Linked DNA regions of Homo sapiens: regions 2 and 3 are each linked to region 1. Evidence: promoter capture Hi-C in human tissues and cell types (Jung and others, 2019). All regions are on one chromosome and are shown on one strand. The core of a region is centred on a gene start or on the middle of the fragment in contact, and the rest is flanking DNA. Distances in the headings are between cores, read along the strand shown.

Region 1 (4,569 bases), core at 954-3,453:
GCATGCAGAGCCTCTCGACAAAGACTGGCAGATTTGTTGGTTTTGGGTTTTAAAGAAACCTCTGTCCAATAAAAGGAAACATAGTCCAATTAAAAAATGGGCAAAGGATTTGAACAGACATTTCTCCAAAAAGATATTCAAATGACCAATAAACATTTGAAAAGATGCTCAACATAATAAGTCGTTAGGGAAATGAAAATCAAAACCACAATGAGGTATCACTTCACACCTACTAGAAAGGGTAATAATTCAAAAGATGGACAATAACAAGTGTTGGCAAGGATGTGGAGAAATTGAAAATCATATCTTGCTGGTGGGAATGTAAAATGATGCAGCCACTTTGGAAAACATCTGGCACATCCTAAAAAGTTGAAGAGTTACCATATGACCTAGCAATTCCACGTCTAGGTATATTCCCTACCTGAGAGAAATGAAAACATACTTCCACACAAAGCGTGTACATAAATGTTCATAGCAGCATTATTCATAATAGTCAAAAATTGAAACAACCCAAATGTTCATCAATTGATAAAATATATCCAAACAATGGAATTATATCCATCAAAAGGAATGAAGTATTGATATATGTTACAATGTGAATGAACCTTAAAAACATTCTAAGTGGAAGAATCCAGTCACAAAAAACCCACGTTGTATTAGTGTGTTAATATGAAATGTGCAGAATAAGCAAATTTACGGGTAGAAGTAGATTAGTGGTTTACCAGGCCAGCATTAAGAGGCAGGAAGAAATGGGAAGTGACTACTATTAGTTATGATGCTTTTTTGGGGGCAATGAAAATGTTCTAAAATTGTGGTGATGGCTCCATAACTAAGAATATACTAATATACGAATATATTAGTATACTAATATCGAATTTGCTAAAAACAACAATTTTTTTTTTTTTTTTTTTTTTTGGAGAGACAGAGGTCTTGCTGGTTTGGAACTCCTGACCTAAAGCGATCCTCCTGTCTTGGCTTCCCCTAACACTGGGATTACAGGTGTGAGCCATCGTGCTTGGCCCAGATACTTCAAATGGGTGAATCTTTTGGAGATTCCTAAAATCCACATTTGATGAATGTGGATTTTTCAAAACTGTGTAAAATATCCATTACCTTTCTAAGATCACTTCTTTCCTTTAGTCTGCTTAAATGGAAAAGCTGGTAATTTCATCTGCGCCAACATTCATACAAAATAAAAATATAGTCTGTATTTAAAAGCAGCTTTTGTTCATATGCTTTAATTATTTCATTTACTAACACATCAAGGCTTGCTGAAGCAAAATAACTGGCCCGTAATCAAAAAGCAAATAAGAGTCATCTGGATTTCAACTCTGGTTGTCTTAAGCCAGCCTCAGCCTGCATTTCATGACATCCTTAGGGAACTCAGTGTGGATATGGATGAAACCATATAAACACGGAAGCTGTTTTCAACGTGCTTTAGAAATTATAACACAGCAATCATTCTGGCTACAATGTGGCAGGCACCGTACTCAACACTTTATTCACAAGGTGTTATTAGTTCATCACAACTCTAAGTATTAAGCTAATTCACAAACTAGAAAGATGAAACAGAAAGATACCAGGAATTCGTGCAGTTAAATGGAATACATCTAGTCCCAATGATCCACAGTATCGTCAAAACATAGCTAAGTTGGGGGCGAGGAAGCAAGCTTAGTAATCATCCAAACTTGGCTTAAAGTGTGGTTCTGACTGAATTCTCTGAGCTTCAATTTACTTAACTGTGAATCAAGGGTAGTAACAATGACCGCGTTCGACGATGGGAAAGACGCCACGCTCACAAGCAGACAGATCCTAGTACACCTGAAATCCAACCGGGAGTGGGGGACAGCGGCGGGGAAGTGGGGGTGTGGAAAAGACTGGTGGAAGAGCTTTTAGGAAAGCTCTCACCCCGTCGCTAGCTCCTTCCTAGCCCGAGTGCCAGCCCTTAACTTCACATTTTACAGATTCCCTCCCAGGTCTTGATCCTGCCAAGGAGGAGGGTCCCACCCCTTGCGGAAGATCCTCCTCACTCCACTCACCAACATGGGGACTCCATAGCCGAGAGTCTTGTTCTTGCGAAAAGCACGCATCACCGCGGGTGCAAACATGAGTGAACTCTTCCATCGGCTCAGAACTCCAAGCGGGCCTAGCGCAGACTCCCAAATCTCAGCAGCTCACGCTCTCACCAAGACGAGTACGTCCTTAACTCACTTCCTTTTCCTTGGTTATTTGGTGCTCGGTCCTTAGTGAATGGTTTCCGCTAGGCAAAAGCAATCGAGCCATCGTAACATACTTGTGCGTCCGCCCAGAAATGTGGGCGTCAGCGTTTTTGGTTCCGTAACGTCGGCGTGCAATTGGGATTTAGAGATTTGAATCGGTTTACGATCACCACCAAATTGATCTGGAAACCAGTACTTCCCACGTTCTGGGTCCTAACTAACGTCTGCTTAGAACACTCCCTTAGGCACATAGCCACTCGATAAAATCAGCTAAGGAAAAAAGTATTTTGAGGCCGGGCGCGGTGGCCTGGGTGGGTGGCCTGTAATCCCAGCACTTTGGGAGGCCGAGGCCGGTAGATCACCTGAGGTCAGGAGTTCTAGATCAGCCTGGTCAACATGGTAAAACCCCGTCTCTATTAAAAAAAAAAAATACAAAAATTAGCCGGGCGTGGTGGCAGGCGCCTGTAATCCCAGCTACTGGGGGGCCGAGGCAGGAGAATCGCTTGAACCCGGGAGGCGGAGGTTGCAATGAGCAGAGATCGCGCCATCGCACTCCAGCCTGGGGAACAAGAGCGAGACTTCGTCTCAAAAAGAAAAAAGAAAAAAAAGTATTTTGAAGCTGGTACTCCAGTCTTTATGGCTATTTGTGGGATGAGGAATTTGCCAGTTTAATGGAGACTTTTAAAAATAAATCGCTTTTGAAAGATTAGGTTGAAATGTAATCAGTGTAGTGTCTCATCAGTCATTACTGAACTTTTAATGCTAATGATTTTACTGTGAGATAACCTGTAATCTTTAGTCATTTATGAATGTCTATTTACCAATGATTCAGCAACCATACAGGCCACCTTTCAGCGTGTCTTTGAAAGGGTTCTAGGAACACAGATAAAAATATATGATCCTTACCTTAAAGACACTGGCGATTTCATGGGCACAGAAACAAACATGTGTGAAGTACTGGGATAGCTTAGGAAGCCGATCCCCCACGTGTCCCATTTACCAGAGTGAATCAGAGTGCAGGTGATGCGGAATATTATCTTCCATGCTATTCCTGAAATATTTCCATCTGTCCCTGCCTCTCTGTTACCACTGAAATGTTCCTTTTTTTAATTCCTTATCATCTTTTCACCTATTAAAGTAGCCTCTTAAGTGGTCTCCAGAAGAGAAGCTCCAGATCTACTGCAGGCTACTCCAGTGAAACTTATCCTTTTGGCTAAGATCAAGTGTAGTATCTGTTCTTAACAGTTTAATATTTGACACATTCTCTATCCAAGGAAAATATGTTAAATGGGTTTTTGAAGCAAGGAGATGGAATAGGAGTTTGCTCCACCACTCTACACATCAACCTGTATTTCAATACCTCCAGAAACCCAGGAACGGTGCATCTCTCCCATCTTATTTACTTCCTTTTGATATTTCAAAATTCATGCAGACCAGGCATGGTGGCTCATGCCTGTAATACCTGCAGTTTGGGAGGCTGAGGCAGGAGGATCATTTGAGCCCAGGAGTTCGAGACCAGCCTGAGCAACAAAGCAAGACCCCATCTTTACAAATAATAATAATAATAATAAATTAGCCAGGCATGGTGGGGTCTCAGCTACTTGGGAAGCTGAGGTGGGAAGATCACTTGAGCCCAGGAGGTCCAGGCTACAGTGAGCCGTGATCATGCCACTGCACTGCAGCCTGGGTGACACAGCTAGACCCTGTTTCAAAAATAAATAAATAAATCTCACGTGGCATCCAGGTTAGTTAAGCGTATCACATCTCCTACTTTCCCTAAGATCCTAGAAGCCAAAGGCGCTGCTCTAAAACTCTAGCGTTTTCCTACATCTTCACTACATAAAACATCAGCCTACTGGATACTACTCCATCAAAACCCGGCACCTAAGTAGTAGCTAATAATGGGTTAAATCGTATACATATATTCAAAATAATGCTAGAGTCGATAATCTTACACTTTTCAGATAAGGCATCTATCCAATTTAAGGCACTCTATGTCTTTAGTATCTTGTTTGTTCAATCACTCAAATAAGCATTTATTGAGAACCTTGAAATGGCCCTGAAGGAGTAACTGTGAACAGTAGGAATTACAGGTATGCCGGCAGATTGTCAGGGGACAAAATCTGTGACACTGAGGAATGTAAGCACCTATCAAATCATACTACATAGGTGGTAAATTTTACCAGCTATGCATAGCGCCCTTCTTAAGCATCACTACTGTATACTTCAGTTTTTCCATCTGTTAAATCGGAATGAGTGATATTTGTCATCAGTTTACGATTCTCACAAAAAGGGAACACAAAATTTCTTACCAGTATGGAATCTGTTGCCTTCCCAGAAATATGACTCA
Region 2 (4,569 bases), core at 750-3,249, 590 kb after region 1:
TTGCAAAAGCAAATAAAAGAAATATCGCTGAATTCTTTTTCTTAGCAAGGAGCAGCCCTGGGAAAAGAATGCATTCCCAGGGGGAGGCCTCTAAAATGGCCACTCTGGGAGTGTCTGTCTTACGCAGTTGTGGATAGGGGATGAAATATGCCCTGGTCTCCAGCAGCGCCCCCAGGCTTGTTAGGATTGGGAAATTCCAGCCTGGCGAAATTGTAGGCAGACTGGTTCTCTGCTCTTGAACCCTGTTTCCTGTTAAGATGTTTATCAATGACAATCTGTGCATAGCGGGACAGTGAACCTCATCAGTAATTCTAATTTCGCCCTGGCATTGTGACCTTGCCCTGCCCATTTGCCTTGTGATATTTTATTGCCCTTGAAGCATGTGATCTCTGTGACCCATACCCTATTCATACACCCCTCCCCTTTTGAAATCCATAATAAAAACTTGCTGGTTTTGTGGCTCAGGGGGCATCACGGAACCTGCCGACATGTGATGTCTCCCCTGGACAGCCAGTTTTAAATTTCTCTCTTTTGTACTCTTTCCCTTTATTTCTCAGACCGGCCAACACTTAGGGAAAATAGAAAAGAACCTACGTTGAAATATTGGGGGCTGGTTCCCCTGATAAATACACTACTGTATGATAGTTACTTACACTAGAGACCAAAACCAGCAGCCTAAAGAAATTATTCAGCATGGCTTATAAATCTCAGCATTTATTTTTATTTACTCATATAAATAAAATGTATGTGTGTGTATATATACACATATGCATATATAGATATGTGTATATATAGATGTGTATATATACACATATATAGTTGTGTATATATAGATGTGTATATATACACGTGTCTATATAGATGTGTATATATACACGTGTATATATACACACATACACATAAGTGTATATACATATATATGTGTATATGTACATATATGTACATATACACATATATGTATAGTGTATATATACTTATAAATGCTTATAAATCAGCATTTATTTTTATTTACTCGTATAAATAAAATGTATGTGTGTATATATACACATATGTATATATAGATATGTGTATATATACACACATACGTGTATATACGTATATATGTGTATATATGTACATATATGTACATATACACATACGTATATGTGTATATACACTTATAAATGCTTATAAATCTCAGCATTTTTATTTACTCGTATAAATAAAATGTGTGTGTATATATACACATGTATATATAGATATATGTATGTATAGACGTGTATATATACATGTGTATATATACATACATGTATATACGTATATGTGTATATATGTACATATACACATATGTATATGTGTATATATACTTATAAATGCTTATACATCTCAGCATTTACTCATAGTGTGTATATACACATGTATATATAGATATATGTATGTGTATATACACACGTGTATACACACACACGTGTATGCACACACGTGTATACACACACGTGTGTACACACATATGTGTGTAGATACACACGTGTATACACGCACGTGCATACACGCACGTGCATATATACATATATAGACACATACGTGTATATACATATGTGTGTGTGTGTACATATATATGTACATATATACACGTATATATGTGTATATATGTATAATATACACATACGCATGTGTATATATATACACACACACCTTAAGCAAATTGTGATATTTTACTTGACATTTATAAGTAGTATACTTTACTTAACCTATTGTAAATTTGTTTGAATTGTATATTCTTACCTTAGAAACTTAGCTGTTTCTTTCCTAGATCTTTGCAAGACTGACTTCTTAGGATTCAACTGTGATTCGATGTCAACTCCTCCTGGAGGCTTTCCTTTCCCATCCCAGCTGAAGTGATCCCCCTGTTGCTCAGTCACATTCTGTAGCATGACCTTGGCCTTGCCCACTTTCCACTTTACCTATTTGACAGAAGTGTCTACTTTATTCATAGTCAAAAGTTTGTGACCTTACAGAAATTAATAGGTACCCCTAATATAACTCTTGGAAAATTTGTGAACACTTGACATACCTCAAAACAATTCTAGCAGGTAGATGCTGTTATTATCCCTGATTTACAGATGTGGAAACCAAGTTGAGAAAGATCAAATAATCTAAGCAGTTGTTTCCACTGAGCATAATATGAAATATTTCAGACATCAAGACATAAATAATGTAAGAAAAAGTGGGCACTCCTCTCTTAAGACAGGTGATATTTCTGTATATTTTCCAGGGCATTGAAAGCCTTTGTTTATTCCTTTTCAATTACATTTTTTTCCTTATTCTTAACATGAGTACCCTGTTTGTTAATTAAACACGTATTTTAGCCTCATAATTTTTGTTTATTGCCTTAATCACTATCTGAAATTATCTTAACATTTATTTGCATTGATGAACTTCTTGAAGGTAATGACCTTATTGTTCTTATAAACTATTATATTCCCAGTTCCAAAATCAGTGTCTGGCAATGATAGGTACTCAGCAAATATTTGAAGTAGTGAAAACGATTATTCTGTGATATTATGTTTAATGATGCACAGTATCTCATTATGCCAATGTATTTTATCCTATTTTAAATTATATCAATCATTTTGAAATTTAAATATTAGATAACTGTGATGTTTAAATTTTCAATGATTAAATGTTCTATCATAGTTTTTCAGAGGTGGAATTACTAGAAATGCTATGCACATTTATAAGTTTTCCAATATGTATTGCCAAATTCCCAAGATTTTACCATTTAATGACTATGACCAGAAATTCAGCTGCCTCTTTTTTTTGCACTTTTGACAACTCTTGAGTATTTAGTATTTTGAAAAACTGTGATATCTCATTGTTTAATATTGTTTAATATGTAAATAAATTATTGTTTAATATTCCCGTTTTTGAATTACTAGTGAAATGGAGGTATTTTTCTTATTGCCATTTATATTTGTTATTCTGTGAATTGTATATTTTTCTATTGGTGGATTTTTTTTTGCTATTGATTTTGGAACTTTTTTTAAATAAAATATATTAGCTCTTCTGTGTCAAATACTCTTCCTCAGTTTATAGCATTTTATTTGTCAGTGTCTTTATATCCTGTAATTTATTTTTCTGTGGTCCAATTTTGTGTGTTTGTTATTTCTGCTTTTGATAACGTTTTCTAAGATTTTCCTTCCCTCAAATTATATAAATATACAATAAATTAAGATCTTTGTATCTACTTTCAGTATTTTTATCATTTTACTTTTTACTCTTAAATTGTTGTCAGTTTGAAAACATTTTAACTTAATTTGTTTAGGTTTGTTTATCACAACACCATTCATTAAGTAACAAATTTTTTCCCTGTAAATTTAGATGCTTTCTTTTTCATGTAGTATACTGTATATACTTATGCTAGTTTCTGAACTTAGTTTTCTGCTTCATCTTTCTGCCTTTTTTCATTTATACCATACTGTTTTTATCATAGTGGCTTTATAATATGTTTAATACTTAGCATTGTGAGTGACTCCAGTATTTTACTTTTTTGATATTATTATTTTTTTGGGGGGCGGGGGTTGGTTGGTTGTTTGTTTTGAGATGGAGTCTTGCTCTGTTGCCCAGACGAGTGCAGTGGTGCGATCTCGGCTCACTGCAACCTCCACCTCCCAGGTTCAAACGGTTCTCCTGCCTCAGCCTCCCAAGTAGCTGGGATTACAGGCATGCACCACCACGCCCAGCTAATTTTTGTATTTTTAGTAGAGACGGGGTTTCATCATGTTGGCCAGGCTGGTGCTGGACTCCCGACCTCAGGTAATCTGCCTGCCTCGGTCTCCTGAAGTGCTAGGATTACAGGTATGAGCCACCACACCTGACCTTTTTTGATATTATTTTGATTATTCTCATGCATATACTTACTTTTGTGAGATATCTTCATGTGTGCTTATCCTCCAGAAAATTTCGTTAGAATTTTGATGACAATTCTATTAAATTGTAGAAACTCAACTTTTAAAATAGGGATATAGATGAGAGATTTCCATTTATTTTCTTATGTTTTTATTTATCATCTCTTTATTCACTTATCTTTTATGTCTTATAACCTTTCACATTTTTTAAATGGTTTCTGTACATTTCCTACGCCTATTCTATTTCTGTTAAGAAATGCATATTCGTACATTGTGGATAAGTGGACAGAATGTAGACTTCACACTCAGTCAGTCAAGGCTTCTTAATTGTAAGACATTGGAGAAGCTACTTAAGCTTTTGAGTTGGCTTTCTTGTCAGAATGATGAGGAAAATAATGGAACTCTCTCATAGGATTATTACAATGAATAAATGAAATAATATATAGAGAGTTCTTAGAATAATTCCTGACACATGGTAACACTTGATAATTGTTCTAATTATTTCTGGATATTATATATATTTGTCATTGCTTCTGAATTGTTTTTTCCATTTTCTTTTACTTTAAAAATTTTTTATTGTGAAATATGTATTCCAAACACTAAGTTAGCAATAATCAAGTGACTACTTCATTACCTACCACACAGCTTAAGAAATAAAACATTATAAAAATACCATATAAGC
Region 3 (4,569 bases), core at 1,412-3,911, 580 kb before region 1:
CTATCTCCTGAATTTATTGGCATCAGGTTACTTAAGCTTCCAGAGCCAAGAGGAGGATAGTGTGGGAAGCAGTGTTTCTTGCCTACCTTAAAGATTAGGACAGGTTTTTTTGTTTTGTTTTTGAGATGGAGTTTTGCTCTTGTTGCCCGGGCTGGAGTGCAATGGTGCGATCTTGGCTCACTGCAACCTCTGCCTCCCAAGTTCAAGCGATTCTCCTGCCTCAGCCTCCCAGGTAGCAGAGATAACAGGCATGTGCCACCATGCCCAGCTAATTTTTATTTTTAGTAGAGACGGGTTTCACCGTGTTGGCCAGGCTGGTTTTGAACTCCTAACCTCAGGTGATCCATCTGCCTGGCCTCCCAAAGTACTGGAATTACAGGCATGACCCACTGTGCCCGGCCTTGTTTTTGTTTTTTTTTGAGGCAGGATCTTGTTCTGTTTGTCTAGGCTGGAATGTGGTGGTGTGATCACTGCTCACTGCAGCCTTAACCTCCTGGGCTCAAACAATTGTCCCGCCTCTGCCTCCTGAGTAGTTAAGACTATAGGTGTGCACCACTGTGTGTGGCTAATTTTTTATTTTTCTAGAGACAGGGTCTTGCTATGTTGCCCATACTGGTCTTGAACTGGCCTCAAGTGATTCTCCTAACTTGGCCTCCCAAAGTGCTGGGATTATAGGTGTGAACCACTTTATCCAGTTGTGATGCAGTTTTGGTGGTCAGATAACGTGAATGCTTAAGGGGCTTTGACATGCTACTTTTTGTCTTGAGATATGTATGGGATAGTACATGTTTAAGGGAAAACAATAGTGCAAAATGCCTAAGGTCCTATATCCACATTAACCTTAGACTTCTATATGTGATCTTTCAAGCCCTGTCTTAGATGTGTAGAAAATGAGCTTTGTTAATACAGGAGTCTCAAGACACTTAGATATATTCTTAGTTCTGTGGGGGCTAGACTACATAAATACTGGGAACCAGTGAATAACATCTATATAGCATCTGATAGTAATAGCCAGGCACTGTTTTAAGTGCCATTACCTCTGTGTTGACTGAATCTAATACCATCATTTTACTGGTGGGAATTCAGGAATTTTTCAAAGAACAGGGATGGATTGGTGTTAAAATCTAGGAAGTCTGATTCCTAAGACCCCCACACCACACTGTCACTGTTCACGTAAAGATTTTTGCCCCTAGCTTTTCAGGGATTTGGAAGAAGGCAGAATTAGAAGCACTAGAAAAATGTAGCTTTTAGCTTCCCGAAAGCATGCGGATTGGGAAGTGGGAATCTCCATTTGGGAGAATTGAAAGGTTTTTGGTATCCTTAATTTTTAAAAGGCCACTCCCCAGCTGTTTCTAAGACTAGAACAGGCCACGGAAGCTTAAAACTGCTAATTGCAGTAAGAGGCTGAGTTTAGGAGTTGGTATACCTGTTGAATTAGTTGAGAGAACTAGGTTTATTTTAATAAATGGTTAAATCTAGATTTTCTTAGCGTCTCTGAAGGCAGTACTTAGCCTGAAGTTGCTATCAAAAGCAGCTTCTCACCCTTGGGCTTTTAAAACATGCTCCTCAGTGCAGTATGGTAGTATGTTGATGTTCTTCCCCTCTACCCCTAGACAATCAGACAAACTTTTTTTTTTTTTTGAGATGGAGTCTTGCTGTTGCCCAGTTTGGGCGATCTTGGCTCACTGCAGCCTCTGCCTCCTGGGTTCAAGCGATTCTCTTGCCTCAGCCTCCCAGGTAGCTGGGATTACAGGTGCCCATCCCCATGCCCAGCTATTTTTTTTTTTTTTTTGTATTTTTAGTACAGACGGGGTTTTAACCTGTTAGCCAGTCTGGTCTCGAACTCCTGACCTCAAGTGATACACCCACCTCAACCTCTCAAAGTGCTTGGTTTACAGGCGTGAGCCACTCTGCCAGTCTTCTTTTTTTTTCTTGGGATAGAGTCTTGCTTGGTCACCCAGGCTGGAGTGCAGTGGTGGTGTCTTGACTCACTGGAACCTCCACTTCCCAGGCTCAAGTGATCCTAATGTCTTAGCCTCCCAGGAGCTGGAATATCCCACCACCATGTCTGGCTGATTTTTGTATTTTTATTAGAGATGAGGTTTGACCATGTTGGCCAAGCTGGTCTTGAACTCCTGACTCCAAATAATCTATCTGCCTGCCTTGGCCTCCCAAAGTGTTGGGATTACAGGTGTGAGCCACTGTGCCCAGCCAAGAATTAAGCTACTTTTAATCTTAGAGGTGTTAGGGAGTACGATAAATTCCTTCTTTTGAAAAAAATGGCAGGGAGATAACAATTATGTCTCAAAAAGGGACTCTCAAAACCAGGCTTCAGATACCATGAGGAGTGTGGATGTAATCCTAAGGAAAGGTTTAGGACCTGCCTTTGTAGGGCATGGTTTAACCTTTGTTTTCTATGTTTATATTAGTTTCATCTTTATTCCTTGCTTTTTTTTTTTTTTTTTAGACAGGGTCTTGCTCTGTTGCTAGGTTGGATGGAGCGCGGTGGTGCTATCTCGGCTCACTGCAACCTCTGCTTCTGGGGTTCAAGTGATTCTCCTGCCTCAGCCTCCCGAGTAGCTGGGACTACAGGTGTGTGCCACCATGCCTGGCTAATTTTTGTATTTTTAGTAGAGATGGGGTTTCACCATTTTGGCCAGGATGGTCTCAATCACTTGACCTCATGATCTGCCCGACTCGGCCTCCCAAAGTGCTGGGATTACAGGTGTGAACTACTGCATCCGGCCATCTTTATTCCTTTCTAAGAATGGTTTGAGGCCAACCCTGTCTTCCTCAAAAGCTAAACAAATGTGTTCTTACATAACTTGTATGTAACCAAGTCTCCTAGCAGATGATGTTGGTTAGATAATAGAGAAAACAATTTGAACAGGTAGGTATATATGGATATAATAAGTAAAAATGATAGGTGGTAGCCTTGTCAAAAATCTGCGTTTTTAAGAGGATGTTAGTAACCCAAATCTGTGTTTCTCGTTTTGGTGTTGGGAGTACTTGTTAGTCCTGCACATTTGCCAAACTGATACCCGAAAACTATATTGTCTTGGTTTCATTTGTACCTGACCATACAAAATGATAAAAATCCCAAGTAACTAATAAGCATGATTGACTTTTTGTAATTGTTAATATTAGTTGTTAATCATTTACTTGATCCTTATTTACATATGATATGCAAAATGTTTAAATTTTATTAGAGACAATTTGAAATTTGTGAATTCTAGGTATTTGAACATTTTTCTTTGAATTGGGAAACGACTCATTTTGGCAGTAGTTTGCTGTACCCAGTTTTGGGGGCGCCTTGTGTTAAAACCAAATACCTACTGAACTTAAAAAAGAGATTATTAGTGAGGTAACATTGTGTTAATGTATGTGTTTGTTTCCTGGTTTTTCCTTGTCAAAAGTTTTCCTCCTCTACTAACATGATGCATTCGCCCAGTTTTTTCATTTCATTAGCTATTTTTTGAGTTTGTTTTGCCTGATTGCATCTTACTGTGTTCACTTTTGCATACTTGATGTCAAATTTGACTTTTCGGGAGCATCATCCCAATAATGTCAAAAGGGAAGGAATAGGATCTGAACTTTTTAGGTTAGAACTTCTGAAGTTTAATTCTACAGCACTTGTGAGCATTTATTTCTCTTTTGGGTCACAAAACTTGGAATGGGATTTGGGTATTTGAGTAATGGGTTAAACATATATATTGATTAGTTCAGGAATTGAGTGACTTTAAGATGCTTATCAGACACTTTTAGAGATCCCAGCAAGAGGCAGATTCGGTTTCTGGTTTCATAGAGTTTACAGTCACTGAACAAGTCTTTAAAATAAGTAGCAAATTCTAAGTTGGGGATAGGTGAGGCTTCTTGGGTAGACACCCTGTCTGTGTTCCCGGCCAAGACTTGATGATTCTGATAGATGTACTGGAAATGCTGGAGAAAGACTCAGGCAAGACTGGTGTTTTTGCTGCTCTCTCTAGTTTACCACACTGGCTTTCAGAATTGCTTTGGGACCAGAATCCAGGCCACCAGGGGAAGGGCTAGGCTGTGCAAGGGGAGCAGTCCTCCCCTTTGTAGGTGCCATTTCCCAGAGCTCCTGGAATTGTTTCTTCAGTTGTGGCAGCTGTGTAGATCATTTTTGTTTTATCTGTAAAGTTAAAAAGGGTTACAGGTGTAGAGAGAGAACAAGAGGAGTGAACAATGAAGCTTGTTTAATCTGGAAAGTACAAAAATACCAACTCAGCCCTAGAGTGTGCTAAGTATATATTTTCCATCTCTGTCGTCTCTCCCATGGTTTACTCTTTAAACTCACTTTCCCCTCAGTCTCCCTAATGGTAGTACTAGTAGTAAAAGTCCTAATGAATTAGACTATTGTGTCTTCATCATCACTTCACTTCTAACTTCGTTATACAGTAAAACAACAGGAGATGAGTTTATGTATGCAAGGTCTGTGTTGCATTCAGGGAATGAGGAGGCAGGCAGGAAAGATCTTCGAGAAAGTCTAACCAAGAGAGTTTCCAGTTCTTCCCTCCAACCCCCAATTGATCTACCTCTTCTTGTCCG

The links. Contacts are between HindIII fragments. The study calls those that stand out against the background at their distance.
Region 2: a fragment that was not itself captured here is called in contact with the fragment with the promoter of COX16 in region 1 in 1 of the 25 tissues and cell types used here (lymphoblastoid cells).
Region 3: a fragment that was not itself captured here is called in contact with the fragment with the promoter of COX16 in region 1 in 1 of the 25 tissues and cell types used here (mesendoderm cells).

Annotation. Positions count from the first base shown.
Region 1 is chr14:70,357,480-70,362,048 of GRCh38, forward strand. It overlaps COX16 (cytochrome c oxidase assembly factor COX16), which reads right to left and starts at 2,204. Exons shown (of 4, transcript NM_016468.7): 1 at 2,040-2,204. The coding sequence starts at 2,108. All of the region lies in intron 3 of SYNJ2BP-COX16 (SYNJ2BP-COX16 readthrough), which reads right to left. It also overlaps the pseudogene RNU2-51P. RefSeq lists enhancers at 1,924-2,233, 2,694-2,783. The HindIII fragment of the contact is 8,811 bases long and covers 1-4,569 here.
Region 2 is chr14:70,947,816-70,952,384 of GRCh38, forward strand. The region is part of intron 2 of PCNX1 (pecanex 1); the gene reads left to right. LOC105370557 (a long non-coding RNA gene) reads right to left here. Exons shown (of 3, transcript XR_944008.3): 2 at 1,765-1,943. Among named protein-coding and RNA genes, the nearest start is that of PCNX1, 43 kb to the left of the region's middle. The HindIII fragment of the contact is 4,812 bases long and covers 1-4,405 here.
Region 3 is chr14:69,772,236-69,776,804 of GRCh38, forward strand. SLC10A1 (solute carrier family 10 member 1) reads right to left here. Exons shown (of 5, transcript NM_003049.4): 5 at 3,181-4,153. The coding sequence ends at 4,047. Among named protein-coding and RNA genes, the nearest start is that of SRSF5, 7.4 kb to the left of the region's middle. The HindIII fragment of the contact is 3,910 bases long and covers 707-4,569 here.